Regions from separate parts of the Homo sapiens genome. Here region 2 is linked to region 1. Evidence: promoter capture Hi-C in 16 types of primary human blood cells and fetal thymus (Javierre and others, 2016). All regions are on one chromosome and are shown on one strand. The core of a region is centred on a gene start or on the middle of the fragment in contact, and the rest is flanking DNA. Distances in the headings are between cores, read along the strand shown.

Region 1 (3,855 bases), core at 1,212-3,711:
ATGGGTGAAATTGTATGACATGATAATAAATTACTAACCACCAAATCTTTCTAACTGAAGACCTCTTCATATACCTCTTGCTCCTTAGCCAAATTAAGTCAAGTAAGATATTAGGAGTAACCTAGAACTCTTTATTTCTTCACAATTTTAAATATTGCATTTGTAAACCAAAATGGAATTATTATTTCTGTGTCCAGTATCTTTATCAAACAAGCCTTTATTTGTACATACACAGTAACTATTACTGTTAAATACTTAAATACCTGTCTCTAGACAGGCAAAGGACTCCAAGATCAGAAAACCATGTATGATTGATTTCTTATTCCTCAAATCAAAAAACAGTCCTATTTTGAAAGCAAACAGTATGTCTAACAGGTTACTCTCTAGAGAAATTTAAGACAATTCATTTTTGCAAAATATGTCAAGCCATAAAGAAACTGAAAAGCAAATCAGCTGATAAAAATACAAGTAGACACACTGCAACATTGTTTAGCTCCCAACTGTAACAAGAAAAATAGAAAGATGATAGATATATAGATAAACAGCCTCAATGCATCGATCATGCCATCTCATAAATTCCAGTCCATTTAACAATCTTACTTATTTTTTGTAAATTAACAAAATTGGCACGTTGTTGTTTAGAAAATGAAAAAGAATAGAAACAGCCAGCAAACATATTACAGTCAAGTCCTACAAGTATTGATTTGAAGAGCTGAAGAGACCAATGCTATATTTATTGACATTAAGGGGATTTCTCTCTTGGGATACCAAGAAATGAGGTATCCTGAGAGAGAAGAAGCTCAACTTCCTTTACCTGCAGTGAAATCATTGGCCTTATCTATCTTCTTGTGAATTCATGTACAGATAAATTCTAGACCCCTACCTACACTTCAGGTTGTAGGTAAAAACACTGAAATCTCCAAATTTGTTTCGTTTTTATGAATATAATTGGTATAATAACAGCTTTTGGCAAAAGGAAACGGAGGGGGAGTATGATCTACTAATAAAAATAGTATCTGGACATTTATTACTTTTTTTATGCTTAATGTGCCTTTCATTCTTATAACTTAGCCAAGAGTTTTCCAGCAGCTGGAAATCTTTGAAATTAAACGATGCATGTGATTCAAAGAACAGTTATATCTCAGATCTAAGATGCAGAATGCATAGAGTTACCATTTCTGTTCAGTGGCATCATATAATTATGATGTAAACCTAATGTAAGTACAATGTAATTTTAGGTGACCGTCTCAAAGTCTTGCTAAAAATTATCCCAGGCACGTGTGTGACACACACAGACACACACACACACATATATAACTACTGTAATTAAGAGCGATTCTTCTGTGCGCTCCTCCTTATACACGCTTTAAAGCTGTTGGCCATAGTGGGTTCCGATTTGTGTTTGAAGTACCGCACAAGGAAGGTGGCCTGTGAAAAACGGGAAGGAAGGAGGCAAAACAGGAAGATGGAAGAAGAGAGTAGGCATGAAGGAAAGTGACAGGAGAAAGGAGGAGAGCCTCTTCCTTCCCCAACACACTCTTGTAGCTAGAAAGGTCCAAGCCCCCTCACCAAACACCAGACAAATCTTCCCAAAAGTTCCTGGCAGAGCCTTGGTGATGCCGAGGCTTGAGTGCGCCCCTCCTTGGTGCCCCAGCCACCAGGGCACGCAGGAGCATCCTGGAGCCTCAGCCCAGCAAACTCTTGGGTAGTTCAGGTTCCCTTCCGCGCCCGCTGCCTGCAGTCAATCACTGGGCACCGCGCGCCCATCCGTCACCTACTCCAGGGCTTCCAAGCCCTGAATCCTTCTGCCTCTCTCCATTCTCCCTTAGCCTCTCTCCATCCTCTCCTCCCCAGTGACTTGTCAAGAGGTCCAAGGGCGGAAGCCGAAGCAGAGAAGATGAGGGCGAAAGGCTAGGGGCCGGTTGGCGGATTTCCTACAAGGGGCGACAATGACGCCGTCAAGACGACCATCCAGGCCCGGCGGCCCCATTCCCTCTTTGCCCCACATCAGCCCCACAGCACCCTACACTCTCCATTGAGGCTTCAGTGTGTGATGAAGTAAGAGAATGAGGAAAAATAAACCCGCAGCCTCCTAGGCAGCCCTTACCTCAGGCTGCCCTCGCAGAAGCCGCCCTCCTCCTGCCCGAGGCGCCTCTGCTGCACCGCCGCGGCCGCAGCGCTCTGGACGCCGGGGCTCCGCCCGGCGCGGGTAGACCATGCGCTGCGAGTGAGCCTTCCGCGCTCCCGGGGGTGGGGGACGAAAGTCTGCCCGGAGGGCGCTCGCGTGCAGCCCGGCCCGCGACGAAGAGCCTGCAGCCGCTGAGGCGAGGCCAGGAGCCCCGGGAAGGGGCGCGCGGGCCGGGGGCGCGCGCGCGGACGGGCCAGCGGGCTAGCCTGGGGAACCCGCGCCAGGGAGACACAGGCGCTGGCGACGCGCCCCTCAGCTCTTCTCTCGTCCTCTGGCCCTTTAAACCCCCTCTCCCTACTGTCCACCCCCGCCCCCCGGAAGAGAGACAGCTCGCCGGTGCCACTTGGTCTGCCGCGCTGCGCTCCTCAGCCGGGTGCGGGGAATAACAATGTGACCGTATCGCACGGACGAGATGCTGTGTAGTAGGTTGTAACTGCTGAGGCCACCACCTGTCAATTCTAGGGTGCAAAGCACGCCGTCCCCAGTCGTCTGGCCTCTCCCTGATTGCCCTCCCAGGTTATTTTTTCCCCCACCTACCTCACAGACCTCCTGCAATATTCCGCGGGCACGGTACCAGGGGAGTTTTGCAAAATAACCCTCTCTCCCAGCCGGGAGCTCACTGCATCTCCCTTACCACCAGAGCTGAAGGATTACGCACAGCCCTGCGTGCCTATCCAAAGCCAGAGACCGAAAATCCTGGTTTGAACCCCACACTCGCCGGCCCCCCAGCCCCCATTCATAATCCCAGCGGCCGTCTGCCACTACACACCCTCCCCCGGCCGCCCGCGCTCTTTCCCATTCGCCGTCCCTGGAACGTGTCAGTCACTCGCTGTGCATCTGCCATGAATACAAGACGAAGAGCTCTGCAGCTACTGGCTGCACAAAGAGGGACTGGGGCGCAGGGGACGCAGACCCCCGGGTTGGGGGAGGCGAGAGAGCCAGCGGGGCACATTACGTGGAAGGAGCCAGTGGGACCGTGGGAGTCCTCTGGTCTCCTGTTGCACAAAGGAGCGCCAGAGTGAATACGCGCAGTGCTCCTGAACCAACAGGTCAGATCACCTCCCAAGAGGTGCTCCACCAAGACACCCCTGAAGGTGAGTCCCACAACTTGGGAATTCGTGTGATGGAGCAACAGGCACTCAGTAACCTGACTGAGCCTGCTTTAAAAATGCAACAGGATGGAGAGAGAGCGAGAGCGAGAGCGAGAGAGAGAGAGAGAGAGAGAGAGAGAGAGTGTGTGTGTGTGTGTGTGTAGAGTGGGAGAGGTATGCTGGAAAGCACAAGTTTCCTTTTCCCCGGTTGTCCAGCCCTTTCAGTCAGAGAAAAAAAGAAGGAAGCTGGCAAGGAAAAGAGGAGGAAGATAGGCATGAAGTAACTTTGCCTATCCAACTACTACAGTAGCTAGAGACCAAAATGACTTTAATAGACAACATTCGCCTGTTTCTCGATTTATTCCAATAAACATCATGCACACCTACTGTGCACTGAGCACTTTGCAGAAGCTAAGGATGCAGAGTCGATTAGGACATAGTCTCTGCACCCAAGGAGCTCACTGCCTAATAGGAGAACCAACTATGAAAGCCCGAGACAAACAACACAAGTATTTCACAACAGAAGCACATGCCAATTGCATAAGTGGAAGCAATTTTTTCTATGTAAGAGAAGGA
Region 2 (4,117 bases), core at 138-2,637, 650 kb before region 1:
TTGGCCGGTGATTTTCAAATTGTTCTCTTGTTCCACAATGACCTAAGGAAACTTCAGAGACAAGTCCAGCTGACAAGGTGTGTGCATGTGTGTGCGTGCATTTGCACATGTGTGTGCACATGTGTGTTTGGTGATTGGAGCAAGTATGAAAGGTTCAGTTATGTTGATGCCCCTCCTAGCCCTCACATTTGTGGTTCTAAGTTCTTTCGTTTTCATGATTGAATTTTTCACCCTGGTCTACTTGAGTGCATACTAAGAGATGTGGGGCTCTGGACCAGCCTGAAAGGAGACCCCTGCAGTCTCTGTTCATCTCCAGCACCCTCCTCTTCTCTCTCCTGGTTCTGTCTTTCTACTGTCTTGCTGAGCTCTTGCTGCCTGGCTCAAATAACTCAACACAGCAACAAGAGGTATTTGGAGAAGGGTTGGAGAGACAGAGTTTTCATGGCAGTGCAATTAATTGAAAAAGAAAAGAGCCAGTTCTTATAATGAGCCTGAGTAAGTACATAAACAGAAACTGAATGTCAAGACTCTCAAACAGGAAAGCGTCACCCCAGCAGGCTGTGCACAGAGGCAGGAACAAAGCCCACAGAGGCAGGAACAAAGCCCACAGAGGAAGAAACAAAGCACATAGAGAAGAGGGTCGCAAAGATGGACAGGTGGGACCATGAAGTTAAACAGCTCCACGAGCATGCTTTGAGTGTCTACTATGTGCTGGGCTCTAAGGATATGGAAACAAATGTAAGGAAATCTTAGGAATTGGGAGAGAGGTTCCAAACTAGAGAGCTACCAGGCCCTATTTAAGTGCTTTGACAGTAGGAGGGACAGAGTGCCAGGAAAATTCAGAGAAAAGGTACCAAATTTAGTGTTGGTGGGTTTGGGAGACTCCCTGAAGGAACTAATGCACAGAAAAAAAAAGGAAAGGAAAAGAAAGGAAAGGAAAGGAAAGGAAAGGAAAGGAAAGGAAAGGAAAGGAAAGGAAAGGAAAGGAAAGGAAAGGGAGGGGAGGGGAGGGGAGGGGAGGGGAGGGGAGGGGAGGGGAGGGGAGGGAAGGGGAGGAGAGGGGAGGGAAGGGAGAAGGGTGGGAGGGAGGGAGAAATAAAGAGAGAAAGAAGAAAAGTTTGTATGAGCTTAAAATTGTCTCTCTAATCCTTCTCCAAATACCTCTTTCCTGATGCTGACGTGTTGACTTATTTGGGCCAGGCAGCCAGAGCTCAGGGTGACATTAGAAAGACAGCACCACGGGAGGGAATAGGAAGGTGGTGGGGGTGAGCAGAGACCTGCATTCATTCTTAGCTAAAGGGTTATCTCTTTTCAGGAGAAATTTTTATCAGACTTCTTTAATATATATTTGGTAGTTGGTTTTATACAATTATGTAGTATTAATAGCTACTCTTCGTTAAGTTCTAAGCATAGTTCTAGGCAATTTACATACAATTCCACATTTAATCCTCACAACAATCCCTTGAGCTAGGCAGTAGTATCAAGATCTTTATGTTGAAAACTGTTTTATGGAAAATTTTAAGCTCACACCAACTTTCTTTCCTTCCTTCCTTCCTTCTTTCCTTCCTTCCTTCCTTCTTTCCTTCCTTCCTTCCTTCTTTCTTCCTTTCCTTTCTTTCTCTCTCTCTCTCTTTCTTTCATCTCCATTTTACCCATCACCCAGTATGAAGAGTTATCAACTTGGAGCCAATTGTGTTTCATCTAGGCCCCCCACACTTTCAGATGTCAGTAGTATGTTAAAGCAAATTCCAGATGTCTTGTCATTTTATCTGTACATCACTCAATATGTTAATCTAAAATATAAGGATACTTCGAAAAATGTGAACACGAGTCTACTTTCAGGGAAGGTGGAGTAGCAGGGATTGAATTTATCCTCCTGCCTGAAACAACAACAATAACAACAAAAGAAAAAAAAATACGTGAAAGAGTTTTTGAAGTTTCTAGACATCAGGCAATGAGGGACAGTGACACCTGAAGCAAGCAAGTTGAAGCCATTGCCAGAGCTTATTGCCTTGAGGAAGTCCAGGTGTGACCAGGGAGGAGGAACACAAGAGGAGCCTGATGGACTTCCAGAGCAGGGCTTTGTGAAAATTAATAATTTGATTATAGAATTCAAATGGAAGTGCAAATGACTTGGAATAGCCAAAACAACTTTGAAAAAGAAGAGCAAACTTGAGCCTGGGAGGTCAAGGCTGCAGTGAGCCATGATCATGTTACTTCACTCCAGTCTGGGCAATAGAGGGAGGCCCTGTCTCAAAAATAAACAAAATTAGAAGAGCAAAGTTGGAGGAGTAGCCTTACATGATTTCAAGACATTATACAGCAAAGACATGGAACCAATGCAAAAGCCCATGAATAGTAGACTAGATAAAGAAAATGTGCTACGTACACACCATGGAATACTATGCAGACATAAGAAGAATGAGATCATGTCCTTTGCAGGAACATGGATGGAGCTGGAAGTCATCAACCTTAGCAAACTAACTCAGGAACAGAAAACCAAATACCTCATGTTCTCACTTATAAGTGGGAGCTAAATGAGGAGAGCGCATGGACACATAGAGGGGAACAATACACACTGGAGCCTACCTAAGGGTAGAAAGTGGGGCAAGGGAGAGGAGCAGGAAAAACAACTAATGGGTATTAGACTTAACACCTGGGTGGTGAAATAATCTATACAACAAACCCCTCTGACATGAGTGTACCTATGTAACAAACTTCCACATGTATCCCTGAACTTAAAAGTTAAAAAAATGACTTATAAAGTTACAGTCATCAAAACAGTATATGGTATTGGTGTTAAGATAGGCAAGTAAATCAGTGGATCAGAATAGAGGGTCCAGAAATAAACTACACACACACACACACACACACACACACACACACACACACACACACACATATATATATATAGAGAGAGAGACAACTGATTTCTAGTGAAGGTACAAAGGAAATTCTATGGAGAAAGGATGATCTTTTCAGCAAATAGTGCTGGAAAAAATGAATAGTTGTATGCAAAAAATGAAGCTTGATTCATAATTTGTACAATAAACAAAAATGAATTTAAATTTAAAACCTAAAGCTGTGAAACCTCTAGAACATAGGAAACTTTTGTGACTTTGGGTTAGGCAAAACCTTCTTAGATATGACATCAAAAACACAATTCACCAAAGAAAAAAAATTAAAAATTTGGACTTCATCAAAATTTAAAATTTGTACTCCTTAAAAAACACTCCAAAGAGAATAAAAAGACAATCTACAGGCTCACAGAATATGTTTTGCAATGATAGAATACTTGATTATATATAGAGATTGAGTATTCCTTATCCAAAATGCTTGGGACCAGAAGTGTTTCTGTGAGATTTTTCAGCTCTTGGAATATTTGGACATATATAATGAGATATCTTGAGGGTGGGCCCCAAGTCTAAACATGAAATTCATTTATGTCTTATGTGTCTCATACATACAGCTTAATGGCAATTTTATACAATATTTTTAATAATTTTATGCATGAAACAAAGTTTGTGTACATTGAGCCATCAGAAAGCAAAAGTGTCACTATCTCAGCCACCCAGGTGGACAATCTGTGGTTGTTTGGCATTACATCATTCCTGACTCTGCACTTATATGCTGCTTATCAGCAATCAATTTCTTACACTTACTTGCACATAGGTACTTAATAACAAAAATTATGACTTATCATTAACCCAATAATGGAACACTAAGCATGTGGGAGTTATTTATATCCTACTGCTCAAGGTCATTGCCAAGGTCTGAGTGCAAAAATTCAAAAAAATGCAACCTCAGGCATAAATGGGTTAATACAGTGAAAGAAATAATGTGTTCAGGGTAACGGAGCGACACAGTAGCTCCTCCAGAATACCTGTATTAGCTGTTAAACAACAGCAACAACAAAGCCAGGCTTTCAGTCTCTAACTGTAAAGCTGTGTTTTGATTAAAAGGTTATTGTACACTGTATTCTACATTTTTAGGTGAGAAGAAACTTTAGAGCAATTGAAGGAGCAGGAAGTGGAACCTCCAGGGATGAGGAGGCATTCTGCTGGATGGCTTTTAAAAGTGTTTTCTCCAGTCATCTGCTCCACTGACAACAGTTTTG

Evidence for each region. Contacts are between HindIII fragments. The CHiCAGO score rates a contact against its expected background, and 5 or more counts as called.
Region 2: a contact is called between a fragment that was not itself captured here and the fragment with the promoter of PDE4B in region 1, in 1 of 17 cell types (monocytes). The highest score is 5.1, in monocytes.

The regions. Positions count from the first base shown.
Region 1 is chr1:65,791,501-65,795,355 of GRCh38, reverse strand. It overlaps PDE4B (phosphodiesterase 4B), which reads right to left and starts at 2,461. Exons shown (of 17, transcript NM_002600.4): 1 at 2,108-2,461. The HindIII fragment of the contact is 11,219 bases long and covers 1-3,855 here.
Region 2 is chr1:66,442,078-66,446,194 of GRCh38, reverse strand. No RefSeq gene overlaps it. Among named protein-coding and RNA genes, the nearest start is that of SGIP1, 90 kb to the left of the region's middle. The HindIII fragment of the contact is 3,284 bases long and covers 1-3,029 here.